Linked DNA regions of Homo sapiens: region 1 is linked to region 2. The links are contacts of gene promoters, found by promoter capture Hi-C in blood cells and fetal thymus (Javierre and others, 2016). All regions are on one chromosome and are shown on one strand. The core of a region is centred on a gene start or on the middle of the fragment in contact, and the rest is flanking DNA. Distances in the headings are between cores, read along the strand shown. Region 1 overlaps ENOX1 (ecto-NOX disulfide-thiol exchanger 1). Region 2 holds the start of ENOX1 (ecto-NOX disulfide-thiol exchanger 1).

Region 1 (3,208 bases), core at 593-3,092, 490 kb after region 2:
CCGCAATACCTTTAAGCCTTTTCTTCAGCAGTGCCGTTCAACCTTTGGATTGATTTTCATACATTAGTGTCACTTTGGTCATTTTTTAGTCTAGTGCTAAGTTTTGAAGTATAACAATCTTGCCTAGCAAAATTTTTCCAATTTTATTATTTCATTTTTGATCCAATCAGAAAATTCCAGTATTCAGAATTTTTCTAAATTACTGAGTAACTAGAAATGGGTGACTGTGCTGGCCTTAAGCTTCTTGTGAATGCTACAGCTCCTCACCATGTTTTCTTAATAAATACATAAATGGGTGGCTGGTGAATTAATTGATGGTAATCCAGAGGCACCACTAGATTCAGCAGTGCCTTTAAAATCACCAACAAAATATTTAATCACATTCAGTCCGGTTGACATTTAAGGTGTCTAATTCTATTCTTTTTTTATTATCGGAAATTGGTAATCCACATGGGGTGTCTCTTACATATTCCATTTATTGGCACTCGGTGCACTCCTTAGGAATTCCTACCGAAAGATGCACACTGTACTTTTTTTTTTTTTAATCCTTATACTTATTTGGATAGTGGATTCATTGTGCAGTCTCATAAGGTAAATTTTATTATGGAAGCTTGATGACACATTTTTTCAAAACTCTTTAATTTAGTACAGTATTCCAGAAAGAAAGAAAGAGAAGAGAGAGAAATAAAAAGTTTCCCTTTCCAATTTCTGAATTTTTAATATACTGAGAAGTTATATTAAGTCAGAAATTATTAGGATTTTTTTTCTGTTAGCGCTCTGGCCCAAGAAACATAATATAGCCTCTTCCAGGCAGCCTTGTCTGAGGAATAGATTCAGGGCTGCAGTATGACACTGAGTGGTGTTTACAAACAGGTGGCCTGAAGCTAAGTGGAGTCAATATACAATTTCTCACCCTTTAGAAGATAACTACTTGCTGCCACATGAGTAACGAAAATTTTTTTGTAAAAACCAAGCTTGAAATCATTTAATCAGGAATGTAAATCAGTTATGTGCCCCAATTATAAAAATGTTGATGGAATTTGCTATGGTATTGATTTTTTTTTTTTTTTTGGTGGGGGAATTACAGCTGTTGTGGGTTTTTTTAATATGATGATATCACATTCCTATTCCGGGAATGCAAACAATATTATATACTGCTTGGCAGGCACTGTAGTCACTTGGCTTAGCCAAGAATAAGAACTCTCAGCAGTACCATTCCATAGGTTTGTAAGAGATCCCCTAAAATAATGGATGGTACACTTTCCTATATGTATTTATGTTCAGATAATTTATTTAAATAATGCTGTTGGCACATGCTTTATAGCTGCTTGCATTTTGCTATACAGATTTCAGCATATCTTGCAGACTATGCAATTCATTTGGAAAATGTAATTTCCATCCCTGCGTACTAATCGATTTCTTCACAAACACCTGCTATCAGTTATGATAATAAAAATGCCACTCTGAATTGAAAAAGGGCCAAATAGAGCTTCCTAAGGAAATGACTTAAGTGTCTTTGAATGCTACTAAATGTAGTAATGTGCCTATGCAGTGCCAACACTTTCTTCATCATTTGCATTTTCTGTGATTTTGCCCTATTACAACATCCCTCTCACAAATGAATCCTCATAACCATTTCCTTATGGCTTGGTAAACGGAGCTGTCAGGAGGTGGTATCTCAGGGTGTGGACAAGATCTGAAGCTGGGCTGCACAATGTTAAAAAGCACTGGCTCATGCTGCGGGTTATGTGCTGGATAATTTCTGATTTTATGAGTAGGTCTCTGAAAACTGTAAAAGTGGCTGCTCCTTGGTTTTGCACACACATACACCAAATGAAATCTCCTTTATTCATTCTCTTCAGCCTCCAGTTCATTCCATGCACCATTGCCAAACTAATGTTCCTAAATCCCAATTTCATCATGTCCTTCCACTACTCCAAGCGCTGTCAGTGGTTCTCAATTGGCCACTCCATTGAACCTAACCTTCCCCATCTTCTCCCATCACCTGACGTGGATTCCCTTTCTCTCACTGCTTCCAGGCAAACACTTGGCTTTTGGTCGAGTTTCTCTCCTTCTTGCCCCAAGTGTTCTACCTTTGATTTTCATATCTGGGCTTTTGCTTATGCTCTGGCTTCTGACTGAGAGACATCCTTTCCAAGTTCTTGGGGTTTTCATCTTCCAAAGCCCTCTTTTATTCCTTCAGTCTGAATTTTTATTTCTCTTCTCTGAACTCCTATAGGATGCATTTTTTTGTCATGCATCTCGACTCATTTATTTATTCATTTATTCATTCAACCAACATTTATTGAGTGTCTGCTGTATTCCAGACATCACACTATCCTTTCTTCCTTTGAAAGCAATAGTTTCTTTTTAAATGTGTCAGTTTCTACTAGATTAAGCTCTTTGAGAGAAGAGATGTATTCTGTCTCCTCTTTTTGTGGTCTGAGATGCCCTCACGGACCTGAGCACAGTAAATATGAAGTAAATGCGTGTTAAGTAATTGATCCCTACTGGCTTGAGGTAGGGAAATTTCTGGGTAATTGCATGTTCTGTCTGATTAGTAGTTCAGTGTGTACTACACAGAGATTATCATTTTGCAAGATGGAGTACTGTAAAACACTCAACTATAAAACTATTATTAACATAATTTGACATTTGATATTTGAGGAGAGAATTCACTGTGGTCTCAGAGAACCTCAGTAAAGCTTTATCACCATGGAACTGTAATGTGCAGGTAGAACACTCAGGAGGCGACCTTGATTTGGTCCTCTGACACGGGGAGCGGGGGCTGGAAACGCGCATGCACTGACGACCTGGTGTGCAGTGGGCTCCACACCGTGCCCTTATCTACTGGAAGTTACATGTTTGAAGTTTCTGGTAACAAGCGTTTCAAATTTTCTTTCACTTTTCTCTTGCTTACACAAGTGGGGAATGGCTTTTCTGTGAGGGGGAAGATTAAAGGGAGAGTGGTGGGAGAGTTGGTGGGGGAATGTGAGACTGGTTTTGAACAGCCTGGTAAGAACTAAACACATGGACCGATGGTAATCGAGAGCAGAGACTCTGGAGCCTGCAGCCTGGGTGTGAAGGCTTTCTGCTACTTACTTTGTGGGATTGGATGAGTTACATAACTTCTCTGTGCCACATTTTTCTCATCTGTAAAGATGAGCATAAGACCAGCACCGGCATCACAGGCTTGGTGGGGGTATGA
Region 2 (3,298 bases), core at 274-2,773:
GAGCGAGGTTCCGTCTCAAAAAACAAAAAACAAAAGTGTATTTCTCTTAAAACTGTTTTCCCCATCCTTCTGCTCTAGAAGGGACAGTATAAACTGCTGGTGAACACTGACTTTCACATTTTGAGAGGTTAGGTTCTGAGCTTTGGCCCCCTCACACCCAGGGCATCCCACTGGGGTCCCTGCAGAGTGCTTCTACATGCATCCTTTGTTAAGGGTGCACAATGGATAAGTATTATTTTCTTTCTTTGCATTGGGGTTCTGACCGCCAGGGGGAAAAATAGCCACACACAAGGAAATGGCATAAGTTAAAATCAGGCAAGCCTAGTGGGGTGGTAATGACTTTCCCAGCATCCAAGTCTTTGCCTTCAGGTTACGTGAAGCTAGAAAACAATGTCATTCATTCAACATTTACAGGGAACTCACAAAGTACAGAGTACTATGCTAAGCACTGGAAGGCATGCAAAAGTGTGCAAAACACAATCCCTGCATTGAGGATTCCTGCCAGAAAGGGTATTTCAAGTATTACCCAGACCTTACGACCCTTGAAGAAATGCTTGTGTGAATAAAATCCCACTCAGAATTTAAAATAAGCAAGGAAAAGTATACTACTAAGACAATATATCTGTTAAGAGGCAGAGAATGTAAATGTGCTTTAAACATTTATTTCTGAAGTATTACAATGTAGTTGGGATGGAGGATCGGGGGATGTGGGTGTGTGTGGGGAGGTGGTGGGAGCGGTTCTTGGACGAGCCTGACTCTAAGGAGGCACTGCTTAGATGCCTGCACAGCTAAGTTGAATCCTAACAAAGAGGAGGCCGGCATTCTTACCTGGGAAGTGGGTAACTTTGAGAAAAAGTAGCCTCCAAGGAGGAAAAAAAGGCAACATGTCACCTGGGGTTAGGATCCCCTCACCCTTACCAACCTGAATGCTGACCGCACCCCGGCCGAGCCACTCTGGGCCGCACACCCCGCATCATCTGCCCAGGCCACGCGGCCCAATTCCACCGTCTACCCCAAGCCCACAATCCTGTAACACGCCCGCTCCAGCCTGGAGTCGGCCACGTGCGCCCGGGTTCTTCTCTTGGCCCTTCAGCGGGCCCGGCCCCTCCAAGGTCGCCGTAGCAACCGTGCGGTCCCTCTCTCGGTTCCCCCGCTCCCAGTAGAGCAGTCCCGACCGCGGCGGCGGTGGCGGGAGCGAGCGGCCTCGGCCCCTCCCGAGAGGGGGCAGCGCGACCGTGGGCTGCGGGCGCCGCCTCTGCTGCATCGGTGGCTGCGCGCTCCGCTCGGCTCTGCCGGGCTGGGATCCGGAGCCCTAGCGCGCCTCGCTGACTTCCCCTCCTCCTCTGCTGCCGCCCCGTGGGCAGCTTCTCCAAGCGAGACACGCGTTCGATCCTCCTTCCCCGCGTTTACGGATTTCCGGGGTCGTAGAATTTTGCCTCGGTCCCTACGAGCATCTCTCGGCCTCTCTCCCCCTCCCCTCGCGACTCCCCCACCCCGTGGGCGCGCGCGCACCCATACACTCACACTCGCAGGCGCGCGTGCGCACGCCCGCGCGCCTCCAGCCGCGGAGTCTCCAGCGCCCCTCAGCAGATCCCCGCTCTCCCGGGCGCCGCTACTCACACAGGCTTCCAGCCGCCACGGGGCGTCCTCTGTCTGCTGCAGCGGCGGCGGCAGCAGAGGGAACGGCGACTGCAGCCCGGCCGCGTCTCCCAGCTCCGTGCCCGGGACAGAGTCCGGGAGAAGCAAAGGAGGAGGAGGACGCCGAGGCTAGGAGGAGCCGCGCCGCGCCCGGCGCCCCACTCCGCGCAGCGGGTTGCCTCCGCTCCCCATACGGCGGCCCCAGGTAAGCAGCTCCGGGGCCCGCAGCCTCCCTGGGGCGTCCGGGCTCCGAGCCGGGGTCCTCTGGTCTCACCCCCGCCACGGCACCTGGATCTAGACTGAGAGGGGAGTGGGCGAGGGGGGAGGGGAGTGGAGCTAGAGGTGAGGCTGGTGAGGAGGGGTGCGTGGACGCGTGGGGGCTTCGGTGCAGCCCCCACGCCCTTCCCCGCCGTGCCCCGTCTCAAGCTCCCTCACTTTTACGCGCCCGGGGGTGCCCAGCGCCCCAGACAGCTGTTCCCCGCTCTCCCCTCCGCCCGCCAGCCAGTGTCAGCTCCGGGCTCCGCGCCCGCCGCGCGCCAGTCACCTCCCCTGCACCTTGGACAGCGCACCCCGCACCCGTCTCCCCCTGCGGGCGTCGCCCCCGGGACCCGTTCCTGCCCACACAGTGTTCCCGCTGCCCTCTTCTTTCAGGTTTTCACCCTCCCGCTCTGCATCCCTTTTCCTCCAGCCTTGGCGGACTCCGCTCTGCTGCGGGCCGGAAACTTTCCTCCCCGCCTAGTCTGCGCTGGGTACTGTTGTTATTCGTGACTGTCCCCTCTCGCGGGGAGCTCGGACACCTTGGACAGGTCTTCGTCGGCGGGAGCGCGCCCTGCCTGGCCCAACGCGAGGTAAAGGAGGCACTGGGGCAGCCGGACTCGGCCGCTGCCAGGGTGCAGAGCCCGCGCCTCGGCCGCTGGACGCCGGCCGCCTCCCCGCCTCTCCGGACCCGACACGTGCGAGCCTCCCACGGACGCGGCCCCTCCCAGACCACCCCACGTCCTCCCCCTGCACGGCCACAGCCACCCCATAGGTTGGACACCCGGGGCTCGCGGGTCCTGATTGGCTGAAGGCGTAACCCCGCCCTCTTTCGGAAGGGGGGTGGTTCTGGAGTGTTGTGGTTGTCATCCCGCGGCGAGCACATGGGGAAAGTGGGGTCGACAGGTGGGCAAGCCCAGCTCTGTGGAATCTCTGCGTCTCACTGTATAGCCACTGAGCCACGCTTCTTCACCCAGATACACTCCTGCTTCTCTCCTTTTCTCTCCCTCAATCTTTCACTGCTGTAACATTACATGAAAAAAACTGGCTTTGTAATCCCAATTTTGTTAAGATTGCATTTGTTTGGTGGTAGCAATTTTTAAAAGCAGACCCAGGAGAATGCAGGAAATACGTGCGTATGGAAAGGTTCCTGGCCAACTGGGCTGCAGATTTGAGTCTGGTAGTTTGGAGAAAGCAATGAAGCGTGCTTAAGGGATCTGAAGAGGGTGGAGAAAGTGGGAAGGAAATTGATTCCTGGAGGAGAGACGCAGGTGAGCGAGCTTGGAAAGCTGAGCTGGTGGGCCCGCTCGAGAGGTGGGTGCGTGCTGTTGGAGACGGCTCTGTCAAGCAAAGTGGTAATATTGGCTGGTACTTAGTTTATGGTTAACACACTCTGCTTTTGTTT

Evidence for each region. The method cuts DNA at HindIII sites, captures the fragments that hold promoters and counts their contacts. A CHiCAGO score of 5 or more calls a contact.
Region 1: a fragment that was not itself captured here is called in contact with the fragment with the promoter of ENOX1 in region 2 in 1 of 17 cell types (megakaryocytes); the score reaches 5.6 in megakaryocytes.

Annotation. Positions count from the first base shown.
Region 1 is chr13:43,299,446-43,302,653 of GRCh38, reverse strand. All of the region lies in intron 11 of ENOX1 (ecto-NOX disulfide-thiol exchanger 1), which reads left to right. Among named protein-coding and RNA genes, the nearest start is that of ENOX1-AS2, 150 kb to the left of the region's middle. The HindIII fragment of the contact is 1,731 bases long and covers 977-2,707 here.
Region 2 is chr13:43,785,197-43,788,494 of GRCh38, reverse strand. ENOX1 (ecto-NOX disulfide-thiol exchanger 1) reads left to right here and starts at 1,523. Exons shown (of 17, transcript NM_001347969.2): 1 at 1,523-1,843. The HindIII fragment of the contact is 7,995 bases long and covers 1-3,298 here.